Linked DNA regions of Homo sapiens: region 2 is linked to region 1. Evidence: promoter capture Hi-C in 16 types of primary human blood cells and fetal thymus (Javierre and others, 2016). All regions are on one chromosome and are shown on one strand. Each heading gives the region's core, a stretch centred on a gene start or on the middle of the fragment in contact. The rest is flanking DNA. Distances are from core to core; before and after follow the strand shown.

Region 1 (4,971 bases), core at 2,472-4,971:
ACTCTGTGAAAAGGGTTCAAAGTAGGGAAGAAAATATTGCTGTCCTGAAGAAATGGTTTCAGGAGCCCAAAGCCATGATACCAAAGAAATTACAAAAAAGAGCAGGGAGGAATAATGGTCAGATGACGGCAGATCCCATATTTTAAAGATGTCACAGAAGGCAGGACACAACTGAAGAGGAATATTAGAGAAGGAGGATGGTTGCAGGTGGTATTAGCTAAAAGATTTGCAACTCTGCAACCTGTAAATGAGTCACAGGGTGGAGTTAGCCTATAAATTAAGGAGTGGGGTGCATTAGAATTTGGTCGTATTGGCATAAACCAAGAGGTGCTTTATTTACGCCAAAAGAAAGCTCATGAGAAAATACAAATTTAAGTTAGAGTATTCCCATTAAACCAGAAACTGCCTGGCGAGGCACTCCACATAGCATTTGTAAATACAATGACATCTGGATATAATCCAGTCCACAACTTACCTGCATGGACGTGCTGTAAGGGAAATGTGTGTTTCTAAGAACAATGGTACCGATGTCATTCCTAGTCAACCAGTGTCAGAGACAAAACAGTTTAAGCTCAGCAACTCTAGGACCAGCAGGGGAAGAAGTGAGCTCGCCCACTCCGTCACACCCTACTGAAAACCACAGTGACCCCCAACGTCAGAAGCCAGGGGCCTTTCCTTAGGATCACAGGCACTAGGAAATCTGAATTTAAGTGAGCCTAGTTATCAACTGGCCCATATATTTGAGTAAATGGATTGTTTTACTGTGTCTCGTTATGCCTGCAAAATAGAAAAATGCTCCAGCATCTGCCAGAGTTATGGAGAGCCAGGGCAAGATCATATATGTAAAATGCAGAAAAACATGGATTTGACATTTGACATAATATAATCATCTTTGAACTTCCCTCTTTCATTAGCTCCTATGATAAACTGTCCTAATTCTGTTCATTTACTTATTAACTTGTTTAATCAGTTAGTATGTGTGGAGTGTCCATTTGTGCCAGTTACTCTTCAAGGTCCTGGGGATAGATAGAGCAGTGAACAAAATAGAAAAAAATCTCTCTTCCTAATGTAGCTTACCTTTTGACTCACCATCCTTCCATTCACTTCACTATTTCATTTCCTTTTCTTCAATTAAATATATTTGCTACATGGCCGGGCGAGGTGGCTCACACTTGTAATCCCAGCACTTTGGGAGGCCAAGGTGGGGAGATTGTTTGAACCCAGGAGTTTGAGACCAGCCTGGGCAACAGGGCGAAACTCTGTCTCTACAAAAAATACAAAAATTAGCTGGGCGTGGTGGCGGGCACCTGTAGTCGCAGGTACTTGGGAGGCTGAGGTGAGAAGATCACTTGAGCCTGAAAGGTAGAGGCTACAGTGAGTCAGGTTGTGGCACTACACTATAGCCTGGGCAGCAGAGCAAGACCCTGTCTCAATATATATACGTGTGTGTGTGTGTGTGTGTGTGTGTGTGTGTGTATTTCCAACATGCCAGGACCTATATTAAGTGTCTACTATCTATTAGCTCGTTTAATACTCTGAAAGGCCTTATATGAATGACACTAACACCTCTTCACTGCACGTCAGAAGAAATGCAGGGCAGAAACGCGGCACAGCTTGCCTCAAGCTTCTCAGCAAGTGCCACAGCCCTTAGTCCGGAGCCAGAGTCTGTTTTTCTTTGCTAAGCCTTCTGCTCTTTAGCTTTTTTCTCTAATGCCACATCTTTCGTGTTTTGCTAATACAGATCCATGTGTGTTCTCCAAGAATCTATTCGCTTTAATTGCGCACTTAACCTTTAGGCCTCAAGATCCTCTGCTCTGCCTGTCGCCAGAGATCCAGCCCAAGAGTTTGTCCTTATAATGAAGACCCACAAACCCCAGAGGATCCCCAAGGACCTGAGTCATCTGGCCCCGCCTCTTGCTGCAGCCTTATCTGCTGCCACCATATTCTGGCCCAGCTTGCCAGCCTGCCTGGCTTCTCACTGTCATCTGGGTATGTCTTGCTCCCACCTGCTGAAGTTTACCTTGTACCTTTCATGGCTTCTGGGGGCACGGCCTTGCGGAGCCCCCCTTCCCGCTGGCCAGCTTGTGTTCACCTATCAGAGGTTTGCTCAGAGACCTCAGGTGTCTGCCCCCGACCCTGCAGCCTCATTCAGAGTCCTCTGTTATATTCCTGCAGGACTGGTGAGCGACCTTCCTTGCAGTTATTGGTTTGTAATTATATGTTTGCATGATTTCATATCCACCTCTTCTAGTTGATCTTAAGGCTCCTGGAGAAATGGGGTCCCACCTCTTTTCCTTAACATGTGTATTTTCAGTACCCGGTGCAATGTCTGAGACTCCTGGCTACAAACAGACACAATGTGTGCTCAGGGACAGATTGATTTGCCACAGGTACACCCCACCATCACTTCAAACTCGACCATACTAAAGTTATTTTGCACAGATGCAGACACTGCCTCAGACTTGTCGACTTTCTGGACGACATTAGAGACTTTAATGTACTTTATCCTGATTCAGCCTTCCACTGGATGAAGTAACATACTCTGTCAAATCATTTTGCTCCTGTCTCAGCCTCCCCCATCTGACAGGTACACCACTGAGAGGCTAAGCTTGAATTATTCCTCTGATGAGTATCTCTATAGCTTTGTCATCTCCAAGACTGGCTTTGCAACAATCCTACAACATGTGTGTATTCCTTGTAGGATCCTCATTGAACTAGGCCAGATATTTATTTAAATATTTAGAATTATTTTTGGCTGGGCTGTAAACCTATAGTTACACACACCTATGCAGGCATCTTCCCGTGTCAGGCGGTGTCTCATTTCTTTATCAAGAGGTAATTAGTGCAAGAGAAAAAAATGAAGTTTGAAAAAAACATTTAAAAATTGATTATGCCATATAAAGGGGGAAAGCCTTTTAAGAAACGATTATGGCATGAGAGGACCATGGAGTAGCTCAGTAACAATGGAAGGGGCTCGGAGGGTGGAAGGCGGGCGAGGGATGAGAGATCACCTAATGAGAACAATTTACGCTATCACAGCGATGCCTGCGCTAAAGCCTAGACTTTATGCAGTGTCTCCATGTAACAAAACTGCACTGGTACCCCAGAAATCTGCACTAAATCTATATAATGATGATGGAGGCTGGGCGCGGTGGCTCGCGCCTGTAATCCCAGCACTCTGGGAGGTCGAGGCGGGCAGATCACCTGAGGTCACGAGTTCAAGACCAGGCTGACCAAAATGGTGAAACCCCGTCTCTACTAAAAATACAAAAATTAGCCGGGCATGGTGGCGGGCGCCTGTAATCCCTGCTGCTTGCGAGGCTGAGGCAGGAGAATCGCTTGAACCCGGGAGGCGGAGGCTGCAGTGAGCCGAGATCGCGCCACCGCACTCCAGCCTGGGCGACAGAGCGAGACTCCCTCTCAAAAAAACAAAAACAAAAACAAACAAACAAAGATGGAAGGAAGGAGGGAATTTAGCAATTCTCCAGATCTACTGCCAGTGAAAATAGCATATGAGGAGGGATTCCAGTTAGAAATGCCCAGTTTCCTGGGTGTGTGTGTGACGGGGGCGGGGAACCACAACGTTAATTTTATCCCCGACATAGGGAGCGCCTGAGTGGTGGCTTTTCACCGGGTGTGGCTCGTCTGAGCTCTTGAACTGAAGCCAGCGGACACCACCCGTCGGCGCCTGCTTTCCTGGGGCGTGGGCTCCTCCCCCTGTGCAGACCGCGAGGGGAGACGGTGCGGGCGGCCGGGAGCGCAGCCCTCCGGGAGGCGGGTCATGGCCTGGGCGCCGCCCGGGGAGCGGCTGCGCGAGGATGCGCGGTGCCCGGTGTGCCTGGATTTCCTGCAGGAGCCGGTCAGCGTGGACTGCGGCCACAGCTTCTGCCTCAGGTGCATCTCCGAGTTCTGCGAGAAGTCGGACGGCGCGCAGGGCGGCGTCTACGCCTGTCCGCAGTGCCGGGGCCCCTTCCGGCCCTCGGGCTTTCGCCCCAACCGGCAGCTGGCGGGCCTGGTGGAGAGCGTGCGGCGGCTGGGGTTGGGCGCGGGGCCCGGGGCGCGGCGATGCGCGCGGCACGGCGAGGACCTGAGCCGCTTCTGCGAGGAGGACGAGGCGGCGCTGTGCTGGGTGTGCGACGCCGGCCCCGAGCACAGGACGCACCGCACGGCGCCGCTGCAGGAGGCCGCCGGCAGCTACCAGGTGAGGCGCCCCCCGGCGGGGGCTGCGGGCGCTGCGGTGACCGGGAAGCGGGCGACAGTCCGGAGCGGAGCCGCCGAGGCCACCCGTCTCCTGAGCGGCTCCCACGGCCGCTCCCCCCACCGCGCGCCGTCCCCCCCGCCCACGCGGCTCACTCAGTGTGGGTCTCTTTGCCTTGGCTGTGGTAACCCCCTTTGCGACACACACCCATTATTTTACACCGTCCGCCCCTCCCCCAAGCACTCTCCTGTCGTCGAACTCGCGCTGGGCTGGTTTCTCCCGATGCGGATAGTCTGGTCCCTCAGCTGGGCTCTGGTCGGGAGGGCTGTGTGGTCCAGTTCATTCTTGGTAACAATTGTACGTCTATATCGTAAACTTGCCATAATAATTCTCATTTGTGCAATGCTTTGCTTTTGCACAGTGTTTACATTAAATGAGTGTTGTCAGCAAAGCAACCCTCGGGTTTGGGCGTTGTTAAGAAGAGTGTCGAGCTGGGTACGGGTTCCGACCCCTCCAAAGCTCAGGTGCACGTGCCTCCTGAAGTAGGAGCGGGTGGCTCTCCATCAGCAGGGATTTGGGGACTTAGGATTCGAACATCCTCAATGAAGAGGTGCTTCATTTGGGGTGTAGCCCGGGAAGCTTCAAAGAGAAAGAAGAAAAACAAAATGGGAGTATTTGGTCCCCAGAGTGGCATCTGTGAAATTGTGTGTCGATTTCTTCCTACTGGTGCCCTTCAAAAGTTCTTGGATGTTTTCTGAACACACTTGAATCCC
Region 2 (4,818 bases), core at 2,319-4,818, 290 kb before region 1:
AATTCTCCCACCTCAGCCTCCCAAGTAGCTGAGACTACAGGTGCACACCATCATGCCTGGCTAATATACAACTTTTTTGTACAGACAGGGTTTTGCCATGTTGCCCAGTCTGGTCTCAAACTTCTGGGCTCAAGTGATCCATCTGCCTTTGCCTCCCAAAGTGCTGTGATTACAGGCATGAGCCACCACACCTGGCCTACTTTTAAAACTGATAGAGCATACTTGTACATATTTGGGGGGTACATGTGATATTTTGATAAATGTATACAATGTGTAATGATTAAATCAGAGTACTTGTGATATCCATCTACTCAAACACCAATCTTTTATTTGTCTTGGGAACATTACAATTCTTTTCTTCCAGCTATTTTGAAATATACAATAAATTATTATTAACTATAATTTTCCTCACTGTGCTATCAAATACTAGGAGTTATTTGTTCTAGCTAACTATATTTTTGTACCCATTAGCTAACTTCTCTTGATTCTTTCCTCTCCCATTAATGTTGCTTTAATTTAATATAAAAATGTTATTCTCTATAATTGTTTTCCTGGTTTAGGCCAGTCCATTTTCCTTCTCCATTTATTATTGTTAATAACTATTAACAATAATAAACATGTTATTTTTCTGCTTCTAAAATATTGTTTCTGCTTCTTTTGTTTTGCTTTTGTTACGCATTTCATCTTTGTAACTTTGTGCTTAGTACTCTGAATGAAAGTAGATCATTTGTGAGATAAAATTGCGTGTATGCGTGTGTGTTTAAGGAGGGTGCAGACGAGAAACAAGCTATGGCTGTGACTGAACCAAACTGAGGGCGGCTCACCCGGCGCCGCAAAGCCAAAAACATCCACACGGAGGGTTGCAGCAGGACCAAGGAGGCGTCTATTTGCAGGTCACCAAGCAAGGAGAATGGATCCCTCAGGCTTAAGACCTGTCCTCTTCAATGGCTTACAATCAAGGGTTTTTAAAGGCAGGGGTAAATTTCAGGAAAGCAGAATTTACAGGCAAAATTGTAAATAAATACATGGAGATTATAGTTTGTTTGGCCTAAAAAGCTGAGATACCTTGAAGCTGAGGGGGAAGGGTGCCTTACGGGTCATAGGTGGAATGAAAGATTCTTTGATTTGCAATTGTTTAAGGAAGCAAAGCTTTGTCTGAGAATATGGAGCCATGAGTAAGGAACGCTAAGGTCTGGCTCCTGGGCATGACTTTCTCAGGCTCCTCAGGAAGAAATTTAGACAAAGTATGGCGCTGGGAGTTCAGTCCTCAGCGCGCCCGTGCCTGAGGTCCGTGTGCCAGAGGATGCATGTGGTGGAGGTCCAGGTTTCCTCCTGCTTCCCAGGCTCCTTATTTACTGCTCAGGGCTGGCTGGGTGCCTGGAATTTCCCTCGAAGAAACTCACGACTTTCCTTTATTTCCTTGCTTGGCAGTGCCAGACAGACTTCCAAGAGGGGTCTCTGCTCTGTTGCAAAATCCAGGCAGTGATTGTGGCATGTCGTTTTAGAATGCTTCCTCACAAAATGTTTTTCCCTCAGCCCAGGCACATCTCTCTACTGTGTACCTAGCTGTCCTTGAGGCAGGCAGCTGATTACAAGTTATATCCTTTTTTCATATTTCCCCTTAAATTTAGGAGTCTGACTGACAGAGAAATAAAAGGTGATATGCTGGCAACCCCATCTCCTCCCTACCGCCTTTGAATCCTCTTTATTGTGTAAATTGTGTCCCTTTAAAAATAATCTCTATTTCTTTCATCACTGGCCCACACTTATTTTTTTTTTAATTTATTTTTATTTTTATTTTTGAGATGGAGACTCGCTCTGTCACCAGGCTGGAGTGCAGTGAAATGATCTCTGCTCGCTGCAACCTCTGCCTCCCGGGTTCAAGCAATTCCCCTGCCTCAGCCTCCCGAGTAGTTGGGACTACAAGTGCATGCCACCGTACCCAGCTCATTTTTTTTTTTTTTTTGTATTTTAGTAGAGACGGGGTCTCACCGTGTTGGCCAGGAAGGTCTCGATCTCCTAACCTCGTGATCTGCCCGCCTTGGCCTCCCAAAGTGCTGGGATCACAGGCATAAGCCATCCCACCCGGCCACCACACTTATTAATGTCTATTACTGTAAGGTTTTAGTTAGAATTCGTAAGACCCTCTCATTTGTCTTTAAGGATTTATACACCCTCATCAAGAATAGCAGAAAAATAAATTTCAAAACTTTCCATTTTCTCTCTTGAATTGTCCTAAATTTCATTATATTATATGTATGTTTTCCATGCGTGTAATAATATATGTAGTCTGATAAGCTAATAATTCTCTTAGCTTCATGCTATATGGAGCTTTGTTTTCCACTTTTCATTGTCTAGATTTTTGTGGTTTTTCAAAAAAGGCTGGAGTAAGCAGCCTTTTAATTGTATTTAATATTTGCATGGAAAATCTAACAATGGCCTTAGGTTAAGGGCAACCAAATGCTTTTTTTGAAAGGCATTTTCAGCTTTGGAGAACCTGGAGTATCTCATGTTACTATCTCTTTCCTTGTAGGCAGGAAATGACTACATTTGAAAGAAAACTTCAAGATCAAGATAAGAAAAGTAAGTCATGGCTGTATAATATTTTTCATAGTAGGGAAGTGCAAATTTAAGCATCCAATTAGCAGACACTCTTGAGCCTATTGTAATAACAGATTGGAGAAGAGGCTGCTTGGAGTTCTTACTCTTTCATAAAACTGATCACATCATTCTTGGTATTAAAGTAATATTTGTATATTATTTTTTGAGTGACATTTAAGAAACTTCTGTGGAAAGAAGTTAACCAAAATTCTACTGTTTTTAATTTGTATATTGGTGTTCTAAAATAGGGCCTTTGAATATTAGCAGGCGATAAGAAGTGTATTTTTTTTTTTGAGATGGAGTCCCACCCTATCGCCCAGGCTGGAGTGCAGTGTCACAATCTCGGCTCACTGTAACCCCCCGCCTTCCGGGTTCAAGTGATTTTCCTGCCTCAGCCTCCTGAGTAGCAGGGATTACAGGGAGACACCACCACACCCAGCTAATCTTTGTATTTTTAGTAGAGACAGGGTTTCACCATGTTGGCCAGGCTGGTTTCAAACTCCTGACCTCGTGATCCACCTGCCTCAGCCTCCGAAAGTGCTGGGATTACAGGCGTGAGCCACCATGCCCGGCCCCTAAAAAGTGTATTATTTTGTTCTCAAGAAGTTGAAAGAAGCTGGTGGTGCACTCCTGTAGTCCCAGCTACTTGGGAGGCTGAAGTAGAAGGATTCCTTGAGGCCAGAAATTAAGAGTCCAGCCTGAGCAATGTAGCAAGAGCCTGTCTTAAAAAAAAAAAAAAAAAAGAATTTGCTCTGTTTGCCATAGTATCTAGGTATAGTAATCATGTAATTACTCAAAATCGACAGTTATGAATAACAGGGCTCAGCCCCTGTGGACAAGTATACCTAAAGGAAACTCTCTGTTTATTTTTACCCCTAACTTTATTGAGGTATAACTGACAAATAAAAATGGCCTATATTCAAGGTGTGCAATGTGATGATTTGATATATGTATACATTGTGTAATGATTACTACATCAAATTAATATATCCATCACTATACATAGCTACCATCTTGTATGAATGTGGGGACATAAGGGCACTTGAGATCTATTCCCTTAGCAAATTTCAAATGAAGAATACTACGTTGCTAACTAACAAGCAATGGGGATGGATTTCCTATTCAATCCGTGGTGCTGGGTTAACTGGCTAGCCATATGGAGAGGATAGAAACTGGACCCCTTCCTTACGCCATATACAAAAATTAACTCAAGATGGATTAAAGACCCAAACGTAAAACCCAAAATTATAAAAACCCTGTAAAACAACCTAGGCAATACCATTCAGAACATAGGAATGAGCAAATATTTCATGATCTAGACATCAAAAGCAATTGTAAGAAAAGCAGAAATGGACAAATGAGATCTAATTAAACTAAAGTATTTCTGCACAGCAAAAATAACTAACAAGAGTGAACAGACGGCTGGGCCCAGTGGCTCATGCCTGTAATCCCAGCACTTTGGGAGGCCGAGGTGGGCAGATCACGAGGTCAGGAGATTGAGACCATCCTGGCTAACACGGTGAAACCCCGTCTCTACTAAAAATGCAAAAATTAGCTGGGCATGGTGGCATGTGCCTGTAGTCCCAGCTACTTGGGAGGCTGAGGCAGGAGAATCGCTTGAACCCAGGAGGCGGAGGTTGCAGTGAGCCGAGATAGCACCATTGCACTCCAGTCTGGGCGACAGAGCGAGAATCTGTCTAAAAAAAAAAAAAAAATTGGTAGTCAATTTCAGATTCACACGTATGTAAATTGCTTCAGCATTCACAGATGGAATCAACATGAATCTGCATATTTGTGTGTAACTTGAAATAGTTACTCGTGTTATTTCTGTACCTATCTCTATAGCAAGTGTTCATTTTAAAGAATTGTATGATTTTCCTGTGATAGTTACATAAAATTTATATCTTAAATTTGCAGCTATAATCATTCTTTCTTTATGCTTATCATATTGCATTGACATAGCACATTTATGAACATTTTATTACCAAATTTTGAAATCCATCTTATTCAGTACATTAATGTGCTTTATTTACAGAAAGAACATACTATTGATGCTATCTCAGAACACATGTTCTTTCTTGATTTTTTCACTCAGTCTTGAGAACTTCAGTTATAAGATGGGGCAATGTCATGTCAGATGTTTAGATAATAGGCCTCTGCAGTTTTATGACTTCTACATTCTGTTTTTTTCACCTTTTCCTTCAATCTGTGATGGGG

What was found. The method cuts DNA at HindIII sites, captures the fragments that hold promoters and counts their contacts. A CHiCAGO score of 5 or more calls a contact.
Region 2: a contact is called between a fragment that was not itself captured here and the fragment with the promoter of TRIM58 in region 1, in 1 of 17 cell types (megakaryocytes). The highest score is 5.9, in megakaryocytes.

The regions. Positions count from the first base shown.
Region 1 is chr1:247,853,466-247,858,436 of GRCh38, forward strand. It overlaps TRIM58 (tripartite motif containing 58), which reads left to right and starts at 3,722. Exons shown (of 6, transcript NM_015431.4): 1 at 3,722-4,201. The coding sequence starts at 3,782. RefSeq lists a cis regulatory region at 1,635-2,199. The HindIII fragment of the contact is 2,229 bases long and covers 2,607-4,835 here.
Region 2 is chr1:247,561,057-247,565,874 of GRCh38, forward strand. GCSAML (germinal center associated signaling and motility like) reads left to right here. Exons shown (of 5, transcript NM_145278.5): 3 at 2,534-2,583. LOC102724446 (a long non-coding RNA gene) reads right to left here. Exons shown (of 3, transcript NR_188589.1): 3 at 4,583-4,818. Among named protein-coding and RNA genes, the nearest start is that of GCSAML, 14 kb to the left of the region's middle. The HindIII fragment of the contact is 4,843 bases long and covers 1,148-4,818 here.